2 separate regions of the Homo sapiens genome follow, and region 1 is linked to region 2. Evidence: promoter capture Hi-C in 16 types of primary human blood cells and fetal thymus (Javierre and others, 2016). All regions are on one chromosome and are shown on one strand. Each heading gives the region's core, a stretch centred on a gene start or on the middle of the fragment in contact. The rest is flanking DNA. Distances are from core to core; before and after follow the strand shown.

Evidence for each region. The method cuts DNA at HindIII sites, captures the fragments that hold promoters and counts their contacts. A CHiCAGO score of 5 or more calls a contact.
Region 1: a fragment that was not itself captured here is called in contact with the fragment with the promoter of WHRN in region 2 in 11 of 17 cell types (activated CD4 T cells, naive CD4 T cells, total CD4 T cells and 8 more); the score reaches 10.6 in activated CD4 T cells.

The regions. Positions count from the first base shown.
Region 1 is chr9:115,015,979-115,020,697 of GRCh38, reverse strand. It overlaps TNC (tenascin C), which reads left to right. Exons shown (of 28, transcript NM_002160.4): 28 at 1-1,123. Among named protein-coding and RNA genes, the nearest start is that of TNFSF8, 88 kb to the right of the region's middle. The HindIII fragment of the contact is 1,245 bases long and covers 670-1,914 here.
Region 2 is chr9:114,502,252-114,506,734 of GRCh38, reverse strand. WHRN (whirlin) reads left to right here and starts at 1,262. Exons shown (of 12, transcript NM_015404.4): 1 at 1,262-2,551. The coding sequence starts at 1,934. RefSeq lists a silencer at 1,168-1,467 and enhancers at 992-1,882, 1,883-2,773. The HindIII fragment of the contact is 12,008 bases long and covers 1-4,483 here.

The sequences.
Region 1 (4,719 bases), core at 43-2,542, 510 kb before region 2:
GCAATACTGTTTCCATTTTAAGGATATGATTAATATTATTAATATAATAATGATGATGATGATGATGAAAACTAAGGATTTTTCAAGAGATCTTTCTTTCCAAAACATTTCTGGACAGTACCTGATTGTATTTTTTTTTTAAATAAAAGCACAAGTACTTTTGAGTTTGTTATTTTGCTTTGAATTGTTGAGTCTGAATTTCACCAAAGCCAATCATTTGAACAAAGCGGGGAATGTTGGGATAGGAAAGGTAAGTAGGGATAGTGGTCAAGTGGGAGGGGTGGAAAGGAGACTAAAGACTGGGAGAGAGGGAAGCACTTTTTTTAAATAAAGTTGAACACACTTGGGAAAAGCTTACAGGCCAGGCCTGTAATCCCAACACTTTGGGAGGCCAAGGTGGGAGGATAGCTTAACCCCAGGAGTTTGAGACCAGCCTGAGCAACATAGTGAGAACTTGTCTCTACAGAAAAAAAAAAAAAAAAAAATTTAATTAGGCAAGCGTGGTAGTGCGCACCTGTCGTCCCAGCTACTCAGGAGGCTGAGGTAGGAAAATCACTGGAGCCCAGGAGTTAGAGGTTACAGTGAGCTATGATCACACTACTGCACTCCAGCCTGGGCAACAGAGGGAGACCCTGTCTCTAAATAAAAAAAGAAAAGAAAAAAAAAGCTTACAACTTGAGATTCAGCATCTTGCTCAGTATTTCCAAGACTAATAGATTATGGTTTAAAAGATGCTTTTATACTCATTTTCTAATGCAACTCCTAGAAACTCTATGATATAGTTGAGGTAAGTATTGTTACCACACATGGGCTAAGATCCCCAGAGGCAGACTGCCTGAGTTCAATTCTTGGCTCCACCATTCCCAAGTTCCCTAACCTCTCTATGCCTCAGTTTCCTCTTCTGTAAAGTAGGGACACTCATACTTCTCATTTCAGAACATTTTTGTGAAGAATAAATTATGTTATCCATTTGAGGCCCTTAGAATGGTACCCGGTGTATATTAAGTGCTAGTACATGTTAGCTATCATCATTATCACTTTATATGAGATGGACTGGGGTTCATAGAAACCCAATGACTTGATTGTGGCTACTACTCAATAAATAATAGAATTTGGATTTAAACCCAGGTCTTCTGGCTCCAATGTTCCTGCTCTTTCCCGGTCCCTTAATGAAAATCTCTCCTTCTTTGGGGAAATGTGTGCTGTGGCAAGAGAGTGAAGGTTGCAGAATGGGATATGGGGGCAGTTCAACTGGATGCTTCCTCAGGCTTCTACAATCCTGAACTCTGAAAACTAGGAAGAATGTCTATTAGGAATATCGCCTTCTCCTCTACACTGCAGTCCCCAAAAAGGGAGCAAGCCCATATTCCTCCAGCCTCAGACTGAACACATCTAGTGATGGGGAACCCATTGCCTGGATGGCAGGTCTGTTAGTCCTCAGCAAATATAGTGAGTCAGAACTGCTCAACGCATAACATTTCTCTTTTTAAACAAGGGTATATGGGGGGAGAGTAATTCCCAGTTCATTCTCTTAGGGATTTTCAGAAAATTGACTTATTTAATAAAATAAGTCAAGTTTGGGCTGATAGGCCTCATTCAAATGGAATGTGATGGCTCTGGAGCAAGGATCAGAGGAATTTATGGTTCCAGCCATATCCTTTGTTGCTGAGTTTATCTTGCTTTAATAAATGCTGTCATGTTAGATACACAATGTGCTGTTCCAGATCATAAGAACGGTTGCATGCAATTCAGCCATAGCAACGCTCTCCTGGCTATATAAATCCAAACAAACGGGCTCCCTGTAGCAACCAGGCCTCGAGTTGGAGGCTTACCTCTCCACTGGCTGCTGACTTGTGAGTCTCTAAACCCAAGTCCTATCTCCTCTCCAGAACTGTAGATGTACTTAATTAAGCTTGAAGGTATTCCCCACAAGCCACACAAGAATCAAATTTGGATTGGTGAAGAAGCCACATCAAACAGGAGTCAGTAATAACCCAAATGGGGACAGGGCAGGCAACCGGGTCTGAGGCCATGGCATTCAAAGACCACAGTCTCTAGTGTGAGCTAATCATTTCTCAAACGTGTCCTTCAGCCTCTGGCTCTGTGGCTTGTTTCAGGAAACCTCTTCCATCTTGAAAGTTCTCTTAAAATTCCACTTCACCCTCAAGACCTGGGCCCTACCCCTGCCCCCATGAAACAGTCAAAATATCTCTATTGGGAAGTAATTTCCAGGGTGTTCGACCTTCCCTTTGTTCCTTCTCTCATCTGCTCCCCTTCTCCCTGCTCTGTGTACTTCAAGGCCACCCTATTTTCATTGCATCAATGACTCCCAGCTTCCAGGTGGATGTCAAAATGGGAAAAGCCAGCAGGACATTGAAGGGAAGAGACTATGAGTGGGGGTGGGTCAGGGCACTTGTTGCCCAGCTCCATCTATACAGCATCACAGTGGGCTGTCAGCATCCACATAAGAGAGCCGTAGCCACTGTCAACTGACTGTCTCCATGCAACTCTCTCTTCAGGTTTAGAAAAGTGCTCTCTCACTTGCCCCTTCTAGCCTAGGAGCAGTCATGGCACCCTAGCTGCTGCTAGACTTGGGGACCTGTGCTAGGCTCTGTGGCTCTCCTCCACCCCCTCTCCTTTAACTCTCCTCAGGGACCCCGGCAGGCTCGCCCACCCCTGGGAGCACTGAGTGCCACTGTTACAGCTGCCTGCTGGCCTTATCCATTATGATTTCTACTTCCTGCCCCTCTTCCTATAGTGATTATTGGTCATTTAATGGCTTCCCAGCATCCAAAGTCCTTTCCAGTTTTAGGAAATTTGAGAACCTTGCCTCCTACCAAGGAAGCCACAGAGGAAAATACTCTTTCCTCCTCCCCTTGATAGCCAGGGCATGGGCACGTAACTTGGGCTTTGCCAATTAGATGCCCACAGAGGGACTTCTAACCTTTAGCAATGAATGCAAAACATAGAGTGTAGGAGACTGGCTCCCCCACAGAATCTAGCACTGAGGCCATCTATCCGTGGGATCTGTGGCCCAGCACCACGCAGGGTATAGCCATATCTCTCTCTAATGGTGACAGTTGTTTCCAGCAGTGACAAAGGCAGACTGGCTGATGATTCCTGCTACCTGGCCTCCTTTGGTTCCTGATAATTTTCTGTGCCTGCTTCTTCAAACTTTCTGTCAGTTTTATGAGCTTCCTGATATCCTTCCAGAAAATTCCTTTTCTGCTTAGGTAGTCCTAGATTATTTCAGGTCCTTGAAGCCAGATACCTTGGCTAATACTTTCCTCCCTAAACCATGAGCCTGTGACATTTATTGACCCTCTTGTAGTCCCAGCACTGTGTTTGACACTTTAAATATCCAAAGTATCCTAAGCATCATAGTCACCTGTGAGACAAATCGAACTATTCCATGTCATGTAGAAAACTAGGCCTCAGAGGGGTCAGGTGGCTTCTCGCAGCCATGCCACTGGGGTCAGACCAAGATTCACAGCCAGGCTGCCTGATTCCAAAATCCAAGTTCTTTTCAGTGAAGATATCTTATTCCTTTCAACAAGCCACACTAACTGGAAAACAGAACTTCATTCTTTTCACAAATGCTTGTGGAGCACCTCCCGTGTGGATTTGTCAGTGAAAAAAAGAGGAAAATATCCCTGTGGTCATAGCGTTTATATTCTAACAAAACACAATGAATGATGAATGTAATAAATGATCAAATTAAATGGTATATTCAAGGGTAATAAGGACAAAGGGGACTAGGGTAAGGGGATAGGGTCACAGTATTCAAAGTAGGGTGGTCACACAGGGTGGGCCTGTGAGAAACCCTCAGGAGGCACAGAAGATGAGCTCAATGAATATTTGTTGCATTGAATTCGTGCTCATCTCTTTCCTTCTGAAGATGGGGAAGCAGCAGTCCAGAGGAGGCTGGGGATCATCCCAGGCACCACAGCAACCAGGCAGGAGATTCTGATGAAAATCCAGGCTGCATACTCCTCTGCAGTGTGGCATGACTGTCTGTTCTCCAGAAGGAGAGACACACCTTGCAGGTTCTTCCTCACTGAGCCTCCTATGACCTGTATGCTCTCAAAACAGCTGGCTACACAGCCCAGTCCTTCCCCATTCTCAGCTTGCCCCACCCAAGCTGGTCTTCCCACCATGCCTTGCCTAAGCCCGGAAAATCCGAGAGCTCCTTGTGGGCTGTCCTCGTCGGTCTCCTTCTAAGATTCTCACTTCTCTTTTCATTTAAAAATCAGTGTTGAGCACCTCCCCGCTTATGCTCAGCACTATGTGAGTGAAACAACCACATTCCCTGCCTCCATGCAGCCTCTGTGCCCCAGAGAGGTCAGTGACAAACACATGATCAGACAAGCAAATGTGTGATTACAAACTGAGGGCTGTGCTTTGGAAGCAAATATAAAAAGCTATGAAGACGTCTAAAGGGGATCTGAGGGGGAAGGCTCTCTGAGGAACAGACATTTGAACCCAGATCCAAAGAGCAAGTAGGAGTTAACCAGGTGAAGGAAGCAGGAGAGGCAGAAGGCAAAAGGCAGGTATCTCTATAGTCCTATGGCTGTCACGCTGTGCACAGAGAAAGCCAGAGGCATAGGTGCAAAAGATGCATTGTGGAAGATGAGGTTTCAGGAGTCAGTAGGAACCCAGCCACGCAGATCTTCCTGGTCCAGAATAAAAATTTTGCTTTTTTTCTTCAGTTCAATGGAA
Region 2 (4,483 bases), core at 13-2,512:
ATAAATAAATAAATAAATAAATAAATAAATAAATAAATAAATGAATGATCTATCCTTCTGGGTCCACCACAAACCAAATCCTCCAGGTAATCCTCCATCTTGCCCTACCCTGGATAGATGTCAGCTGGCTCTGCAATGGAAATTCTGGAAGACTTTTACGAAAAATACATAGAAGAGTAGCTTAGGAGAGGCAGCTCAGGTTGGAAGGGATGTGTGTGAGGTAGGGTGTGTGTGTGTATGTGTGTGTGTGTGTGTGTAGCACTATGAAGCTCCCCATTAGAATAAAAGCACAGGATTTTACTTAAATCTTATTTGGGGGATTGGGTGGGTGACGACCGACTCCAGGGCACACCTGGGTGTATCTTCCCATTTTGCCTAGGGATGGGAGAGCATAGAAGAGATTTTTCTCCAAGCCACTTCAAATATGTATATTTTTAATTTCTATTTTGAGATTGTAGATCCAAATGCAGTTCTAAGAAATAATACATAGACATGCCATGTACCCTTCACCCAGTTTCCCCCGATGTTGACACGATGGCAACCAGGACATTGACATTGATAAAATCCACCCACCTTACTCAGATTTCACCAGTTTTATATGCGCTCATTTGTACGTGTGTGCGCGAGCGTGGGGTGTACACTTTATATAATATTTCTGAAAGTGGCTTTTCCCTTGCAATGGAGACTGGGAAGGGGTCCAGCCTGATCCATCCCTGCCACGGAGTTGACTCCGGCAGACAGCAGTCTATGCTTGTATTCGTCTCTCGCACACAGTAGGTGGCCAACGACCGTCCACATAAACCCTGGAATTTGTCATGTCAGGGCGCGTGCAGGAGGGGAGCGCCACATTGTAAGGAAGAAAACCGAGACTGAAGTGCCCAGTATTTTGGAAGCAAAAATCAAACAAACAAAAAACTTGACGATTTCCCCCCGAATTGTGAATTAGCTAGCCGGCTAATTACTCCAAAGCGATCCTGGTGTCGGCACTCGCTGCGACCGCCGAAGAGCGCTGTTTCTGAGCCCCGCTCCCGGCTCTGCCGGCGGGGTAGGGGACGCGGGGGCTCCTCCCACCCCTACCGCCGCGTTCACCCCTTTCTTCCCTGGGGCTGGACTGTTTCACCCCGTCTCCAGGCAACGGCCAGGCGCACCGGGCGGGACGTCATTTCCTGAGGAGCCCGTGGGGAGGGGGCGGGCAGGAGGAGGGACGAGGGGGCGGGGCCCGGGCCGGGCTGGCAACGAGACGGCGTCGGAACTCGCTGGAAGACTCGGCCCGGGTGGCTCAACAGTTCGCAAAGTCCGGGCTTGCGGCCGGGCGGCGCAGAGGCGCGGAGGCTCCCCGGGCGGCTGCATCCCGGGGCTGCCCCGGACATGCCCCGCACCCCTTGTCGGACGCCCGCGCCGCTTCACCGGCTGCCACTCCCCGGAGTGCTCTGGGACTAGAGCGCCCTCCGCCCCAACTTCTGACTTTGGGGTCCCCCAGCCCTAGAGGAACGGGCGCCCGGCTGGGGGAGCCCCGGGCATGGTGTGACGGGGCAGTCAGGTCAGCTTTGCGGCGCCCCCAAACTCCAGCCACCCGTCGTCTCCGTGCCCTCCAGAATGTAGCTGCTGACCCCGCGCCCCCCGGACTCCAGCAGCAGTCTCCGCCACCTCCGGGCTCCAGCAGCCAACTCTTGTGTCTCTCAGGAACCCGCCGACGTCTCCGCGTCCCCCGGATTCCAGGTTCGCGACCCCCGCCGTCTTCGCGCCTCCGGGACTCTAGCAGCGGTCTCCGCGACCCCCTAGGATCCAGCCACTGTACCCGTGCTCCCCAAACCCAGGCTCCAGCCGTCGTCTCCGCGCTCCCGGGGATCCAGCTGTCGCGCCAGTACCCGCGAGGACAGCGGCACCGCCCACACCCCGCGCGCTCAGAGCCCGGCCGGGCCTCGGCGTGGAGATGAACGCGCCGCTGGACGGCCTGTCGGTGAGCTCGTCCTCCACCGGCTCGCTGGGCTCGGCGGCCGGGGCGGGCGGCGGCGGGGGCGCGGGGCTGCGGTTACTGTCTGCCAACGTGCGCCAGCTGCACCAAGCGCTGACCGCGCTGCTGAGCGAGGCGGAGCGGGAGCAGTTCACCCACTGCCTGAACGCTTACCACGCGCGCCGCAACGTCTTCGACCTGGTGCGCACCCTGCGCGTGCTGCTGGACAGTCCGGTCAAGCGGCGCCTGCTGCCCATGCTTCGTCTGGTCATCCCGCGCTCCGACCAGCTGCTCTTCGACCAATACACGGCCGAGGGCCTCTACCTGCCCGCCACCACCCCCTACAGGCAGCCCGCCTGGGGCGGCCCCGACAGCGCGGGGCCAGGGGAGGTGCGCCTGGTGAGTTTGCGGCGTGCCAAGGCCCACGAGGGCTTGGGCTTCAGCATCCGTGGGGGCTCGGAGCACGGCGTGGGCATCTACGTGTCTCTGGTGGAACCAGGCTCTCTAGCTGAGAAGGAAGGACTGCGGGTCGGGGACCAGATTCTGCGCGTCAACGACAAATCCCTGGCCCGGGTGACCCACGCGGAGGCCGTCAAGGTAAGGCTGTGGTTTGGAGAGAGTCTGGGGCAGAGTATGGACAGAGTGGCACAGCTTTTTCAGTAACTCCATGCTGTGTGTCCTTAGATGAATCACTTGGCCTTTCTGGGCTTTTTTTTTTTTTTTAATACTTTAAAACAGGAATGTATAGCTTACAGAGCAAATAGCTCTCAGGCACTGGGAACGTAGTTCTGCACAGACATGGCCCTTGCCTTTGTGAGGCTTAAAAGCTAGTGCAGGTGATAGTAACAAATACTTGAGCAAATGTGTGGTTACAATGTGTGAATAGGGCTGTGGATTCTTATGAGCATTAAAAGAGATAAAATCTCTGCTTGGCATAATTAGGTGGCCTTTGCTACTGCCATTCTGTGGTTTTTTGTTTTTTGTTTTTCCCTGAAACAGTTTTGTTAGCTCTTAAGTGGCCTGAGGAGGCCGTTTGTGTGATCCACAGTGCACTGGCTTGACGCTGCTGTTTTTGGACCAGGTTGTGTATCCTGAAGCAAGTCACTTGCCCTCTCAGGACCTCTTGTTCTCCACTTGGAAAATGGGGCCACTGGACCAAATAAGCGGTCCCTAACCTTTTTGGAAATGAGACTCCTGCCTGAATGTAAAAAATAAATTCCCTAGCCCCTGAGAGTGTTTGTCCTTTCTGCCATTTGTTAATTGAGAAATATAACCTCATGACAACAGGCTTCCAGGGATTTAATCATGCTTTTTAAAGGAGTGTGTGTGCTTACTGATCTACAGCCCAGGGCTACTGAAAACCAGTTGGAGTATGATGGATAGTGTTGGGTCCAGGGTGGATTCATGGATCCTTTGCAGGCATTTTTCCCCCTTCCCCCCTCCCCCGACCTCCTTTGCGTACAAGAAGTGAAGAGTTTGGGGGAAAAGGGACACATGCTCTGCTTCTGCAGAGAAATGCTTCTCAGGGGGTTGGACTGTTCTGTAAACCCCCACTCCCCGCCAGCGCAGGTGTTTTGAACTCCAGCTGAGGGCCTGCTGGCTGCTGGGAAACTCCTAGGCAGCAGAGGCCCACGACTACTTCCTCCTGAGTGCCGTTCAGTGGCCTGTGTCCAGGTGAGTCTTGAGCCGTCTCCCTGGCTGTGCACCTGATGTTGGCTTCCCTCATTTGCTTCCCAGCCCATCAACCCCTTTGGAGGAAGCCCTTGAGGCTTTCAGAAACTTCTTTGTAGCTTCTGGAAAAAGGCCGATCGGTTTATACTGCATCAGGGTGCAGTGGGCAAAGCTCGTTGTGAGTTTCCATGCAACAATTCCTCTTCCCCCTCTATCAATCTTTTCCCTTTGTTTAGCATTCCATATATTTATAAAGAAGTAGTCCATTAGCCTTGGCCTTAAATGGTCTGGAGTTCCCAGATGATAAATTTATGCACTAAAGATACTTGAGGCAAATGATCATTTGTAAATGTGGATTCAGTTTTAGTGGCAATTTAAAAAGACTTGGGTAACTTAACGGTCACAAGGTGATAAGGTGATATGCTTTGGAAAGGCTGTCAGTTACCTTGGGCATTCAAAACGCAGACTGTCCCTTCAATTTGCACCCCAGACTCAGCTGTGCCATAAAGGTCAAGCTGCTTGGCTGTGAGTTTCAGTTTACCAGCAGTGCTCCCCGCCTGCCACCCCCGCCTTCCCCCACCACCATTTCATTGAGCCCGCTCCAGATCTTCTCTCTGAATCTCCCTCAGTAACACCATGGTGCTGTTAAACTGTGACTCAGAGCAGCACCAGCCTTTAGCTTGTTTGTTTACTCTTGCTGCTTCCAGAGTAAAACCTAAACTCTCCATGTCATAGTTTTTGAAGCCTGAGAATAAACCCTTGCTGGCAAGGGAGAGGTTGATAGGAGCAGAGCTGTCCTTTAAGTGTGGCAGCCTGTGGTGCAGGAGCCTGTGTGAGCTGAGCAGCTCTGTCTCTTGA